5 separate regions of the Homo sapiens genome follow, and all the other regions are linked to region 4. The links are contacts of gene promoters, found by promoter capture Hi-C in blood cells and fetal thymus (Javierre and others, 2016). All regions are on one chromosome and are shown on one strand. Each heading gives the region's core, a stretch centred on a gene start or on the middle of the fragment in contact. The rest is flanking DNA. Distances are from core to core; before and after follow the strand shown.

Region 1 (2,700 bases), core at 128-2,627, 240 kb after region 4:
TTCCCATGTCTTTCCTCTGACAGATCCATCACCCCCATCTCCCCATCTCAGAGATCCCGACGTCAACATCACTTGTGAAAATCACCAGTTCTGGGGGTGGGGACCCAGCTCAGATCCTCACCTCCTCAGCCTTGAGCCACAGACGCCCTCTGCCTGATCTCAACCGTCTCCAGGGCCCTCATCCACTCAGCTCTCCCTAGCCCACCCCTTTTTAGGCTCCCTCAACATGTCCAATGAAGGCTGCAGAAGAAAGTCGACCCCTTGGTGCAGGGGTCAGCAAACTTGTTCTGCAAAAGGCCAGAGAGTAAATGCTTTGGACTCTCTGGGCCGGAGAGTCTCTGTCGTGACCACTCAACTCGGCCCTTGGAGTGCAGGAGCAGCCACAGACAGTAAATGATGGGCATGACTGTGACAGTGAAGCTTTACTGACAGACACTCAAGCTTAAATTCTAGATCATTTTTCACGTGTCTCAAAAAGAATTCTTTCCATTTTTCAACCCCCTTAAAAAACGTAAAAACCGGCCAGGCGCGGTGGCTCACGCCTGTAATCTTGGTACTTTGGGAGGCCTAGGTGGGCGGATCACCTGAGGTCGGGAGCTCGACACCAGCCTGACCAACATGGAGAAATTCCATCTCTACTAAAAATACAAAATTAGCCGGGCGTGATGGTGCATGCCTGTGATCCCAGCTACTCGGGAGGCTCAAGCGGGAGAATCGCTTGAACCCAGGGGGCAGAGGTTGTGGTGAGCCTAGATCGCTCCATTGCACTCCAGCCTGGGCGACAGAGCAAGACTCCATCTCAAAAAAAAAAAAAAAAAAAAAAAGTAAAAACCATCCTTAGCTCACAGGCTGTACAAAACAGGTGGAAGGCTGGCTTTGGCCTGTGGGTTGCAGATGGCAGTGCCCTGGCATAGACCATCTGACCAAATCCAGGGGATTCTTCTCCACCTATCCAAACCAGCTCTCTGCCAACCTCTCCAGGAAGCCTTCTGGCCACTCTTGGCCTAAACACTTCATCCCACACAGGGGCATATGACAACCAAGTGACGAAACTTAATTAAAAAAATCACACTGCAAACTACAAATCAAAAAACATATTGTCCTTCCCAATAATCACATGGAAAAGCTATGTTCTGTTCTAATGTTATCCAGAATAGTTTAAGAATTCAAGAATTCTTCAAGAATTGCAAGGTCAGTTAATAAGCCCTGCAAGAAAATTGCTCGCCGTCCTCTAGACCAGCCATGTCCAACAGAAACACTGCAGGAGACATAGATACAATTTTAAATTTTCTGGTAAGCAAAAAAAAAAAAAAAAGTGAAATTAATTTTAATAATTTTTAGCATAATATATCCAAAATATTATTATTTCAGCATATAGTCAATATGAAAACATTATTTCTTTATTTTTTTTTTATTTTTTGAGACGGAGTCTCACTCTGTAGCCCAGGCTGGAGTGCAACGGTGCAATCTCGGCTCACTGCAAGCTCCGCCTCCCAGGTTCACGCCATTCTCCTGCTTCAGCCTCCCGAGTAGCTGGGACTACAGGCGCCCGCCACCATGCCCGGCTAATTTTTTTGTATTTTTAGTAGAGATGGGGTTTCACCATGTTAGCCAGGATGGTCTCGATCTCCTGACCTCGTGATCCGCCTGCCTCGGCCTCCCAAAGTGCTGGGATTACAGGCGTGAGCCACCGTGCCCAGCCTGAAAAAATTATTAATGAAATCTTTTACATTCTTTTTTTTTTTTTAGAGACAGGTTGTCACCCAGGCTAGAGTGCAGTGGTGTGATCACAGCTCACTGTATTCTGAAACTCCTGGGCTCAAGGAATCCTCCTGCCCAGTCTCCCAAATAGCCTGGACTAAAGGCACATGCCACCAGGTCCCGCTAATTTTTTTATTTTTTGTAGAGATGAGGTTTCACTTTTTTGCCCAGGCTGGTCTTGAACTTCTGGCCTCAAGTGATCCTCCTGCCTCAGCCTTCCAAAGTGTTAGGATTACAGGCGGGAGCCACCGCACCTGGCCTATTTTATGTCCTTAAAGTCTCCAAAGTCTGCTGTGCATTTTGCACTTAAGCACGTCAAAGTTCTGCTCAGCCACGTTTTGGGTGCTCTGTAGCCTGCGCGGTGTCCACACTGGACAAGGCCGCAGCGGGGCTGGAGCCCACCTCCTTCTGTGTTTCAAATGGCTCTACTCAGTGTGATCGCTCCAGTTGCCAGAGCTGGCTGCACACAGCTCTCAGCTGCTTCCCCAAATCAAAACCCTCTTTAAGTGAAAATGTTTTGCCAGCACTGAGGATAATCAAAAGAATGTGCTGGAAGCTTTAAAGGAGATTCCGAAATACAAGTGTTCAAAATACAGCATTTTCTCCCATACCATGACAGGCAGAACCTCACTGTGGCTCTGCGAGGTGCGTCCCAACAGTGCAGCTTTACGGAGGAGAAGACAGGTTCTGACCACTCAGGGTCATTTCGTGAGCGGGAAACCCTGCAGCGTGAGACCTTCGTCCCCCACGTGCAGAACTCCGGCTCCTCCATCACCCGCCACCTGGGACACCAGGACAACCCCCCCCCGCCCCTCCCAGATTGTTCTGGAGAGACTGGGCTCTTTTTGGAGAAATGGAGCATGTCTATTAAACATTAGACAGGACTGTTTGCTCTCTAAAAACAATTCTCCTTATTTGTAAAGTGCATTTGCTGTTTCG
Region 2 (2,700 bases), core at 58-2,557, 190 kb after region 4:
GCTATGTGAATAAAAGGTCACTATGCACCCGCTCTCTCCCGTCTGATTTATCTTGTACATCTCCCACCAAAGGGTCTTGTACAAAGCATGGCCTCAGAAAATATTTGTTCTGCAATAAAAAGTTCTGGGTGTCCCCCACCCTCTCAACCTGCAGACAACGAGACAAGGTTGCCACCTGTGTAGAGCTTCATTGTGGTGGGAAGTCAGGCAGCAAACGGTAAACGGGTCATGGGGTGCTCTAAGGGAATGAGCACAGGGTGGGAGGTGGAGGGGCTGGGCACGGCCACTCTAGAGAGGTGGACCTGGGGGTCCTCAGTGAAGCCTGCAGAAAGGTGAAGAGCTAGCAGAGAGCCCAGGGGAAATGCATGCCTGAAATAAGCTAAGCACATCAGAGAAAGCACCAGTCCTTGTACGAGTCCCAGTGCAAAAACAGCGCCACCCTGGAAACGGAGAGTCAGCCCGGTGCAAAAACAGCGCCACCCTCTGGAAACAGAGATGCAGTTTGCTCTTGCATTGTTGAGTTTTACGTTCCTCCCAGTGTGGGAATGGAAGTGATCTCATATTGTAAATAATTTTACATTAATATACACTCCCTGTATTTTTATTTTTTATTTTTTTTTGAGATGGAGTCTGTCTCCATTGCCCAGGCTGGAGTGCAGTGGCGCTATCTCGGCTCACTGCAACCTCCACCTCTCGGGTTCAAGGCATTCTCCTGCCTCAGCCTCCTGAGTAGCTGGGATTACAGGCGTGCACCACCAAGCCCGGCTAATTTGTGTATTTTTAGTAGAGATGGGGTTTCACCATGTTGGCCAGGCTGGTCTCAAACTCCTGGCCTCAGGTGATCCACCCACTTCGGCCTCCCAAAGTGCTGGCATTACAGGTGTGAGGCACCGCACCCGGCCCACACTCCCAGTATTTTTTAAGTTGCTTAACATTTGCAAGTGGTAAATAAATTCACGTTGTGGTTAAAAATTTTAAAAAGACTGAAGTGTGCAGAATCGGCATTGGAAGCCTGTCCCCCAGGTCATCCTGGTCTGGAAGCCCTGTCCCCCAGGTCATCCTGGTCAGCAGTTGAGTGACTCTTCTTCCAAAGTTCGTTCTGCAGGTTTACACACACTTGAAGGTATCTTCCCATGTTGCTGGTAGACACCATTTTGGAATAATGGCTCAGGGGCAATTAGAAAAGAAGAGTCTTTAACGTATTCTTCAACTTGACTCATAAAAGTAGAGTCAATCACTCTTCTCTACAACAGTCAACTTCTCTCAAGGAAGACCTGAGGAAGCTGGTGCCCGACCCACCAGGAGACATGGACCTCATAGGAGGTGAGCTGAGGATGTGGATAATTTGGACACCACTTGGACTGTGAGCTGCTGGGAGGTGTCAGACAGGAGCATCCCACGGGGTAGGGATGGGGGCTCTGGAAGGCTTCCTCTCGGAGCAGGTGGCATGGGGGCTGGCTGTGGGGGTCTTTGTGGGGAAGAAAGAGCCTGAGTGGGTGCAGGGACAAGGAAGGTCTGCGGAGGACAGGTCGGAGTGCTCTGAAAACGGCCCTGGCATTGATTTTTAAAAAGGGTCGCTCAAAAGAACTGAAAGCAGGGACTCGAACAGGTATGTGTACCCCGTGTTCACAGCAGCATCATTCATGATGGCCAGAGGCTGAAGCAGCCCAGTGTCCATCGATGGGTGAATGGAGAAAGAAAGTGTTGTCCCTGCATGCAATGGCAGGTTATTTAGCTATAAAAAGGAAGGAAATTCTTTTTTTTTCTTCCCCCTGAGAGGGAGTCTTGCTTTGTCACCCAGGCTGGAGTGCAGTGGCTCAATCTTGGCTCACTGCAACCTCCGCCTCCCGGATTCAAGCGATTCTCCTGCTTCAGCCTCCTGAGTAGCTGGGATCACAGGCGTGTACTACCACACCTGGCTAATTTTTGTATTTTTAGTAGAGACAGGGTTTCACCATGTTGGCCACGCTGGTCTCGAACTCCTGACCTCGTGGTCCACCCGCCTTGGCCTCCCAAAAAAAAAGTGCTGGGATTGCAGGTGTGAGCCACTGCGCCCTGCTAAAAAGGAAGGAGATTCTGACACAGGCTACAGCATGAATGACACCTGACGTTACGCTAAGTGAAAGACGCCAGACACAGAAGGTCAAACCCTGCATGATTCCACTCCTATCAGGTCCCCAGAGCAGTCAATCTCAGAGGCAGAAAGTAGAATAGAGGCTGCCAGGGGCTTGGGGGAGAGGAGATGGGGAGTTGTTTAACGGGAACAGAGTTTCGGTTGGGAAGATGAAAAAGTTCTGGAGGTGGAGAGTATGGTGATGGCTGCATAACAATGTGAATATACCCACTGCCACTCAACTGTGCACTTACAAATGATTAAGGCTGGGTGCGGTGGCTCACACCTGTAATTCTAGTACTTTGGAAGGCCGAGGCAGGAGTGGATCGCCTGAGCTTAGGAGTTCGGGACCAGCCTGGGTAACATGATGAAACCCCGTCTCTACTAAAATACAAAAAATTAGCCAGGCATGGTGGTGCCTACCTGTAATCCCAGCTGCTCAGGAGGCTGAAGCGGGAGAATCACTTGAACCTGGGAGGCAGAGGTTGCAGTGAGCCGAGATCGTCCTGCTACATTCCAGCCTGGGCAACAGAGCGAGACTTCGTCTCAAAACACAAAAATGGTAAATTTTATGTTATAGTGGTACC
Region 3 (2,700 bases), core at 35-2,534, 170 kb after region 4:
ATGGGTGGCGTGTATCCAAGGCTCTCCTTGATATTAACTCAGCCTCACAGTCTCCAGCGTCCCAGGAAGGAGAGCAAGTTGCAGCCCAGTGGGTAATGAGGCCTTGGCCCTGGCCCAGCGTTCTGGAGGGGAGCTGAGCACAGCCCAGGGGCTTCACCCAGTCCCAGCCTCCTGGAGAGAGAGCTGAGCCCAGTCCCGGGTTAGCAGATCCCAAGTGGGACACAGTCTCCGGATGCCTTCACCCCTCCAGGCCCTGCTCCCAGCCCCAGCCTTCAGCTGTGGGACGTCAGCGCCTAGTTAAGTCTGTTGAACGAGAATTCTAAAACCTTGACATGTGAGCTAACGAGCCCCGCAGCTCCGAGGCCCGAGTGCTTGGTTTAATGACTGCACTTATCCCACCCTATCACTCACGTTCCTGGGAGACCCATTTTTGAAAGAAACTATGGGTCACGAAACATATTATCAATGCTGAATTGCACCTCAAATTGCCTTTTCAAATGACATTTTCCTCCGCGGCTCGGCGGGGTGGGCCGGGCTGGCCCCGGCGGTTACCTTTTCTGCTGGATCTCAGAGTACTCCTTTCGCTTCTGCAGCCGCAGCGCCTCCCGCTCCTCCGACGTGGACTCGTGGCTGTAATAGCGCAGCAGGAAGGGCCAGACCTCCCCGCGGATTGACACATCAATACCGCCAAAGAAAATGGCCTGGAGGAAGCGGCAAAAGTTGGGGAGGGGATAAAATGGGGCAGCTCAAAGAACCCCCAAATCCCCAGAGATGTGTGTTTTGGTGGTTTTTGGTGCGCCTTGATTCAGATCTCTGCAATTTGCACATATTTACAAGGGGAAAGCAGTGGCCTTCAATTCCCATACAGGACACAAACCCGGCTCATTTCAATGTCAATGCCCCCCCTGGGGTGGCGCTCAGATTAACGTGTCGTTCTCACGTCATGGCCTAATCCCTGGTTTTGGAAATGCTGCATTTCACTGCAAACCCTTCTATGCAGGCTGACACGGTATCCCCCCAAACCCTCGAGGGAGGTGTTGTGTTTTGTTTTTTTTTTTCAACGCAGCAGCTTTGATTGCTTTATCGGTGTGTTCACAGAGAGCCTCACACAAGAAAACGGGGCCCTCACGAGGAGGTGGCCCGTGGGTGCGGGCGGGCGGCCAGGCCCCGGCCCTCCTTCCCTCTCGCTCGTTCCCGGTTCCCGGCCGGCTCTCCGCGGGGCCAGCTGGGCGGACCCGGACCTCACCTTCCGCAGCTTGTACTCCTCCTCCACCTGGCCCAGCTCATTCAGGTGGTTGAGCCAGGCGGAGACGCCGAGCCTCTTGTACATGCTCTCCTCGGGGTGCGTCTCGGAGGACGGCAGCTTGGGGCGGCGGATGGAGAACTGCATGCATGTCTTATCGGGGGCGACCTGCTGGACGGGAGGAAAACTGGGCAAAGGTCAGGATCTCAGCCGCGCGGCTTCAGAGGCCAGCAGTGCTTTTCCCAGGAATAAAAGCCTCTCTCTCTTCTGAAAGGAGGGCAAGGGCCGTCCCCTGCATACAAACCCCTAAATGGCGAGTGTAATTAGGCGCAATTAAAATGAAAATACCTTCATCTTAAAATCGGTTTCCCTCTGCGGCTCTCTCCTCCCCGGCCCACTGTGCCGCCGCCCCCCACTCTCTCCAACCCCAGCCGCAAAAACGGAATGAATGCCTCGTTCGGCCTAACTTCCCTCTGCCGGGAGGGCCTGCAATGAATTACATGTGATTGGCCACATACAAAGGGATCGCTGTTCTGCGAGCAGGGAGCCAGCCTGTCAGATTGCCTCCGCGAGCAGTCACGAATCCAGGGCAAAACTGCAGCTGACATTTAATTCAAAAATCAAAGGTTGTTCAATGTAGGGGGAAAAAAAGCCATGCTACTGTAATAAGGGAAGCCAGCAGGAGGCTCTGCGGGAAGGAAGGGAATTTTAAAATCGGCCCCATTTCTAATAAGCACATACAGTACCTTAAACAGATAATTAAAGAGCTCTTATTACATTTGTACGTAGATTGAGCAAAATATGGCAGGAAGTCTTGTCAAAACATGATTTTTCAAGTGCAGGGCACTGACTTTACCGAAAGCCCTGGGCAAAGGTTTCAAACCCAAAGTTGCTGCTCTGACGGCCAAAAACTACCGTGGGTCACACCCCGTAAGCCCCCGGGGCCCGGGGACCCCAGACACAGGACCCAGGAGGGAGATGGGGCCCGTGGGGGGTGGGGAGTGTCAACCGCTGGGCATTCTGGGGCCGTCTGCTGGGCTACCTGGTCTTTGAGCTGCATCTCGGTGCAGTATTTCCACTGCTGGAACACGTCAGACAGCTTGTCCAGGCCGCCGTGGTGGAAGTGGAAAACCTTGTACTGGCTCTCTCGGCTGGCAACGACCAGCTGGCCGCTGGTGCAGGCCTCGTCGCTGAAGGGCCATTGGAAGGGGGAGAGGGAAGCCCGATGAATATGTAAACACGGGGGTTTTATTTCCAAGTATAATCAGAGGCCACTGTCGCCAACCTCAGAAGCAGGAAACAGTGAGTCCCAGTGGAGTTGGCTGCTAGCGGGAGGGGACAGAACTACACCGAACAAAAACCACCACCCCCTTTGCCGAAGATGGCAAAACTGCTCCTTCCTGGGGGGCCCTGGAGCTCCTCTCTGGAGACCTGCCAGAGTGGCCTTCTCCCCACCA
Region 4 (2,700 bases), core at 11-2,510:
AACCCTTTATAAATATGGTTTTGATGATCACAATTACATTGAGACAGTCTCCTACAACAAGAAACGACTTTTGGATCTGCTCAACAGAAAGAGAATTTTGCAGCTGTGTTCAAGGAAGCAAGAAAAGCAGAGAGTGAATTTTCATGGAGTTAGACTGCGTTGAGACGAATGAAGCTAAGGCTCAGGTCTCTTTCATTACGTGTTTGACTTGTCCTGATTCAAAATCTAAATAACTTAAAGGGTGATTCTTCATGGAATTCGAATCTTAACACCGGAATAAAAGGGTAGCCTGCTGACGACGATCACAGGGAGGACAAGGGGTCACCCCCACTTTCATAACATGGCCTGACCCTTTTCTGCCGCGGACAATTGATCCGAAGGACGCCGGCTGCCCAGCCCTGGCGGGCCACTACTGACCTAGTCCGAAGTTAGGAACAGCCTTGCAAACCGCCCCCTCCCCCTCCATTTCATCAAAATCGGGGAACAAATTCAGAAAAGGTGCAGCTGGTTTTCTCCCTACACGTGCCCTAAAACTCGGGGGCTGGATCCACTTTTCATAGCTGTTTAATAAGAACTCCGGGCAGTTCGTATTACTTCTTTCTCAGAGTGCTTGGTGGTTTAAGTTAAAGCATTTTCCTCTCTCGCCTTTGGGGGAAAAAGCCTCGGCTGCTGGGGTTTGTGGGCCCCTCCCCCGGACTTCGTCTTCCTTTCCTTCCCCAGCCCCCGACCCGTTTTGCTCTCGTCCAAAACAGAGCGACTCCCCCGCTGCCGAGGAAAAGCCAGTTCAAGAAGCCGGGGGAAGGGTGGGGCCCCGCGTGCCCCGGAGCAGCGCCCCTCGAAGGCGGGGGCAGGAAGCAGCCGCCGCGCCCCGTCCCGCTTCCCTCCCTTCGGGCCAGAACAATGGCTTTTTGCCCGGAAAACGGAGTTGGGAGCAAGGGCGGGCGCGCCCCGGGAATCACGCGGGACTCGGTGGGCGCCCCAGGCCCGAAGTCCCTAGGCACCTCCTCCCCCAGCCAGGGGCCCGCCCGCGCCCCCACCCCCGCCCCCGCCCCCGCCCGGGGCCCCGCGCGGGACCCCCCGCCGGAGCGCGAGGCCCAGCCCGCCGCGGACAATGCGCGCCCCGCCCCGCCCCGCACCCGCCCCCCCTCGCTGATTGGCCCGCACGGGATTTGGGCAGCGCGCGGGGGCGGGCGGCGGGCCGGGGCGCGGGCGCGGAGCGGCGGTGCGCGTGCGCGGGGCGGGCCGGCGCCGGGCGGGGGCGGTGCTTTGTGTGCTGCCGGCGGGGCGCGCGGCGGTCCGGGCGGGTGACTGGCGGCGGGCGCCGCGGTCGGGCTGGCTGCCGGGCAGCATGGAGGAGCTGAGCAGCGTGGGCGAGCAGGTCTTCGCCGCCGAGTGCATCCTGAGCAAGCGGCTCCGCAAGGTGCGTGCGGCCCGCCGGGCCCCCCGCCCGCCGCCCGCTGTCCGTCTGGCTCACGGCCCCTCTTCTCTCCCCGCAGGGCAAGCTGGAGTACCTGGTCAAGTGGCGCGGCTGGTCCTCCAAGTGAGTCCCCCGCGACGCCGCGCCCCCCTCCCGCCCCCTCGCCCGGGGGTGGGGACGTGGAGCCCCTCGGCCGCGCCGTCCGGTGGCCTGGGGGCGCCCGCGGGCAGAGCGGGAAGTTCGCGGGGTCCCCGCGGGCTCCTCCGGCTCTGAGGGGGGCGGGGGCCGCCCGGCCCGAGGTTGCCCTTTGTTTACACGCCCGCGGGTGCAGAGCTGGGCGGCCCCCCGCGCCAGAACCTCCTCGGCTGCCGCGCCGCGCTCCCCCCAACCCCCGTCCCGGCCGGGAGGGAGGCGCGGGATGCAAGCCCCCCTCCTCTTGGCCAGATTCTCCCCGCTGTAACCTGAGCTTGCTATTGATGGATGTAGAGTTTCTTTTTTTTTTTCTTTCTTTTAATGGAAGGGAGGGTGTTTGGCATCCCCGGAAGGGGCTCTCTGCACAGCTGCTCCCGCGGCCCCGTTTCTGCGTCTTCCCGGACCCCGCTCTTTCTTCGCTACCCCTCGAGGTGCCCCGGCCCGCGCGCCACATTGTTCTGGATCTCGGGCTGGGCGCCTGTGCCCCTCCCTGCATGCTGGACCTGCCTTCCCTTCCTCCTCTGGCTCCGGGCCAGGGTTTGGGGGAATCCCTCTCTGCAACTTTGCGTTTTATGGGGGTTTGTTTTTCTCCCAGGCAGAGACTGTGGGAGTCCTCTTGTGGCCTTGTTTTAATTGGGGGGTTGGAGCGGCAGTTTCCCTTTGGGTCTGAGGTTAGAGTGCTGGCTTGGTGGGGGGTGGCCAGCCTCCAAAACCTGGGTTTGGACTTTGAGAAGTGCCATGGTGCTACGGTGCCACTGCCATCGGCCCAAGTCGAGGAGCGGTGAGGGCGAGCCCCCTCGGGCTGCCTTGCAAAGCGGTGATCATCAGCCTGGCGTCTAATGCTGCCCTGTCCTCTGCTTTGCAGACATAACAGCTGGGAGCCGGAGGAGAACATCCTGGACCCGAGGCTGCTCCTGGCCTTCCAGAAGAAGTGAGGACGCTGACAGCACTGGGGAGGGTGTGGGGGAGGGACGGTGGCTGGTTGGAGTCGTGCTGGGCGCTGCTCGCCTGCCGGGAGGCTGGAGCTGGGGCTGTGGTCTGAGGTCCCTTAGCAAGATTGTGTCCAGGGCCATCTCTGTGGCTGGCTGTAA
Region 5 (2,700 bases), core at 153-2,652, 210 kb after region 4:
AGCAGGTACAGAAGTTTGCCTGGTGACCAGGAGTCATGACTCTTTCCGAATGAAGGTGGGGATGGGGGTAGGGAATGTCCCCATGAAGGTAGCCCCTGGCTGGGCATTTTCCACTCCCAGCCACAGCCTCCCTCTGCGGGCAGAACCCTGGGTGCTGCAGGGAGCTGGTTCTCAGGGAAAAGGGAATTAAGTCAGTACTGGGAGATTTGGGTTCCACAGAGTTTAGGGGCTCCTACAAACAGCGGCTTACGGGCTGGTGAGGAATTTCCCATCCTGAAGCTTTTAAAGCAGACAAACACATGAGTGCTGGGTGGGGGCGGGGTGCTGGGAGATGCAGAGGCTCAGAAAAACCCTCCGAGGCTCTCGGATTTTACGCCTGCATGAGATTTCGAGGGAAGAATCCTAAATGTGGGGAAATGAGGTTGCCCAGCAATTCTGAATGTGGTTTAAAAAAAAAATTAGGTGGGGGAGAATGAGACGATATTCAATATTTCCTTCTGATTCAAACGAAATACTTCTAAGTTCTTCTCTGTGAAAGCGTGTGTGTGTTTAGAAGGGAGAGGGGGATGATAGCACGTCCTGCCAGAAGCCGTTTTATTTACTAGTTTGGATGCTTCCCCTGACGCCTACCTGGGAGGTGCTTGCCTGGCCACCAGCCAGGGCCGTGGCTCCTCGGCAAGTGGGCGTCCGCCGAGCCTTTGATGCACTCTCCAAAGTCACAGAGCAAAACAACACGCTGAACAAACACCACCACCCTGAAAAGTCACCAGCCCATGGGCCTCTCCCTGGCTCCAGCTGTGGCTGATTTACCCAAACTGAAACATTTTCCTTTTGTCGACTGTAGAGAGCTATGAGTCAGGTCCAAGCTCCACTGGGCGTATGCCCAAGGGGCAGAGGGGGCAGCAACCGGACGGAAGCTGCCCAATCATAAGACCATGGCTGAAAGTCAAACGCGCCCAGAGTCCACAGTCGACCACCTCCCGCTCGGCAAGCCAGGGTCCTGGTGAACGCACGTGCCTGCGTTCTGTACCAAACAGTTGTCAACACACACCAGCAACTTAACAAATCAACTCCAACAAAGGGGAAAAAATTAACATTAAGGGCAAAAAGACTTTTTCTGGAGGGTCCTATGCACCAGATGTTGGCTCTTTAATTGGCAGTCAACCTCAAAGCAAAACTTAGAAGGCCCCTGCTTGTTTTATCAGTTAGAGCCACAGAAAATCAAAGTCCAATCCCGCTAAGCATGGTGCTGTGTAGCCCGGCCAGCCCCGTGGAAGTCCTCAGCCTGGTCCCGTCTTCTGGGCTCTGCTGGGCTGGACGGTGCCACCCTCCCCAACCCGCACCTGCCCGCCGGCCCCAGGCCCTCCCTCAGGACCCAGCACCTTCAGTCCTCCTGCCGAGAAGAAGCCTTTCATCAGTAAAAGAGAAAACGGCTTCTCCAAAGGAAGTTTCTTAACTTGAAAAAACACCATGATTAGGGAAACTCCTCCATCGTCCAAGATACAAACACAAACTCCCAAACACCTGTCAATCCTTCTCAGGGCTCCACATGGCCCAAAGGACACCCCAAATGTGGAGGACCACTCAAGACCCTCAAATGCAGCACCGTGTGCCCCCTGAACAGGGATCCCCACATTCGATGAAAACAAAATTGGCCAGCGCAGGAACTTTTGCCCATGACTTAAGCACAGCAAAGTCCCCAAAGCCAGAATCCCTCCCAGGACCTGCCCGACGGGTTTTATCACTGGACGCATCAAAGCCCCTCTCACTGGTGGTTGGTTCAGCAGAGCCCTGGGCCTCGGGCCTGCCCTGCTCTGACAGCTCCCACACTGTGGCCTTGATCGGGCCCTTTTCCACTCTGTGCCTGCTTTGAGTAACAGGCTCCCACAAAAACACTGTGCTGGGGTATTTCCAGGATGAAAAGCCACGGTTCGCTTTGCCTGCCATGGACAGAGTCATAAATACGAGTTGTCGTTGCCTCTTCCCAACAGTCTGGCATGGCAAACTGGCCTTGTGGAGTTCGGAATTGTTCTAGATACTGCTCATGTATTCTCCAGCAGCTCTAGCTGGTTCTGCCCAGATACCTGGCAATGCCAAAGGCCGAGAGGCCAAGACACTACAACCTTTGTTCAAATACACGAACATCCTCAAATACACGAATGTCCTCTCTGCACAAGCAGAGCAGCCTCAGCATCGGCCCTCGCAAGTCCCACCAGAGAACGGTATTGAAAAGATGACTGGGGTCAAGGGGTGCGGAGAGGGACCCACTGTACCCTCATGGCCACTCTAGCGCCAGCCCTTCTGTAATGACCCCCTCTGGATTCCCAAAAGTCAGCCGAGGGGTCCCCACCCTCCTGGGGTGGCTGGGGTGTTGCTGCCCACCCCCAGGGGCAGGCCTGTGTGCAGCATCCATGCCCAGAAACCTGCGCTCAGATTTCCCAGTTCCCAGAAGACAACAGGGAGAGTCTATTTTTCTAAGCTCACTAGGTAAAGTGTTACTTCCTGATCTAATCTTGCCAGGCTCTGGAAGCTTCCGTCAAGGTTTTCCCACACTCCATGTCAGGTCTCTGACATGAACCAGCTTTCAGAGTCTAACGACTAGATTTGACTTTCAGCTGCTCGGACGGAGGCTTCAACTCAGCCTGAACTAGCCGCGTGGACAGCAGCCGTAGCCCTCACAAGGCGTGTGCGGTGACGGGT

What was found. The method cuts DNA at HindIII sites, captures the fragments that hold promoters and counts their contacts. A CHiCAGO score of 5 or more calls a contact.
Region 1: a contact is called between a fragment that was not itself captured here and the fragment with the promoter of CBX2 in region 4, in 1 of 17 cell types (neutrophils). The highest score is 5.3, in neutrophils.
Region 2: a fragment that was not itself captured here is called in contact with the fragment with the promoter of CBX2 in region 4 in 10 of 17 cell types (M2 macrophages, total CD8 T cells, monocytes and 7 more); the score reaches 7.9 in M2 macrophages.
Region 3: a fragment that was not itself captured here is called in contact with the fragment with the promoter of CBX2 in region 4 in 2 of 17 cell types (M1 macrophages and M0 macrophages); the score reaches 5.8 in M1 macrophages.
Region 5: a contact is called between a fragment that was not itself captured here and the fragment with the promoter of CBX2 in region 4, in 17 of 17 cell types (non-activated CD4 T cells, monocytes, M0 macrophages and 14 more). The highest score is 18.5, in non-activated CD4 T cells.

Annotation. Positions count from the first base shown.
Region 1 is chr17:80,016,880-80,019,579 of GRCh38, forward strand. All of the region lies in intron 1 of TBC1D16 (TBC1 domain family member 16), which reads right to left. Among named protein-coding and RNA genes, the nearest start is that of TBC1D16, 18 kb to the right of the region's middle. The HindIII fragment of the contact is 1,876 bases long and covers 440-2,315 here.
Region 2 is chr17:79,970,421-79,973,120 of GRCh38, forward strand. All of the region lies in intron 3 of TBC1D16 (TBC1 domain family member 16), which reads right to left. Among named protein-coding and RNA genes, the nearest start is that of LINC01979, 45 kb to the left of the region's middle. The HindIII fragment of the contact is 7,540 bases long and covers 1-2,700 here.
Region 3 is chr17:79,949,165-79,951,864 of GRCh38, forward strand. It overlaps TBC1D16 (TBC1 domain family member 16), which reads right to left. Exons shown (of 12, transcript NM_019020.4): 5 at 2,286-2,433; 6 at 1,247-1,414; 7 at 553-701. Among named protein-coding and RNA genes, the nearest start is that of LINC01979, 24 kb to the left of the region's middle. RefSeq lists enhancers at 1-571, 572-1,155, 1,740-2,323, 2,324-2,700. The HindIII fragment of the contact is 4,940 bases long and covers 1-2,700 here.
Region 4 is chr17:79,776,888-79,779,587 of GRCh38, forward strand. It overlaps CBX2 (chromobox 2), which reads left to right and starts at 1,261. Exons shown (of 5, transcript NM_005189.3): 1 at 1,261-1,420; 2 at 1,497-1,540; 3 at 2,475-2,540. The coding sequence starts at 1,349. RefSeq lists silencers at 1,066-1,445, 1,456-1,525 and an enhancer at 1,921-2,514. The HindIII fragment of the contact is 13,003 bases long and covers 1-2,700 here.
Region 5 is chr17:79,987,565-79,990,264 of GRCh38, forward strand. All of the region lies in intron 3 of TBC1D16 (TBC1 domain family member 16), which reads right to left. Among named protein-coding and RNA genes, the nearest start is that of TBC1D16, 47 kb to the right of the region's middle. RefSeq lists an enhancer at 283-1,154. The HindIII fragment of the contact is 2,251 bases long and covers 278-2,528 here.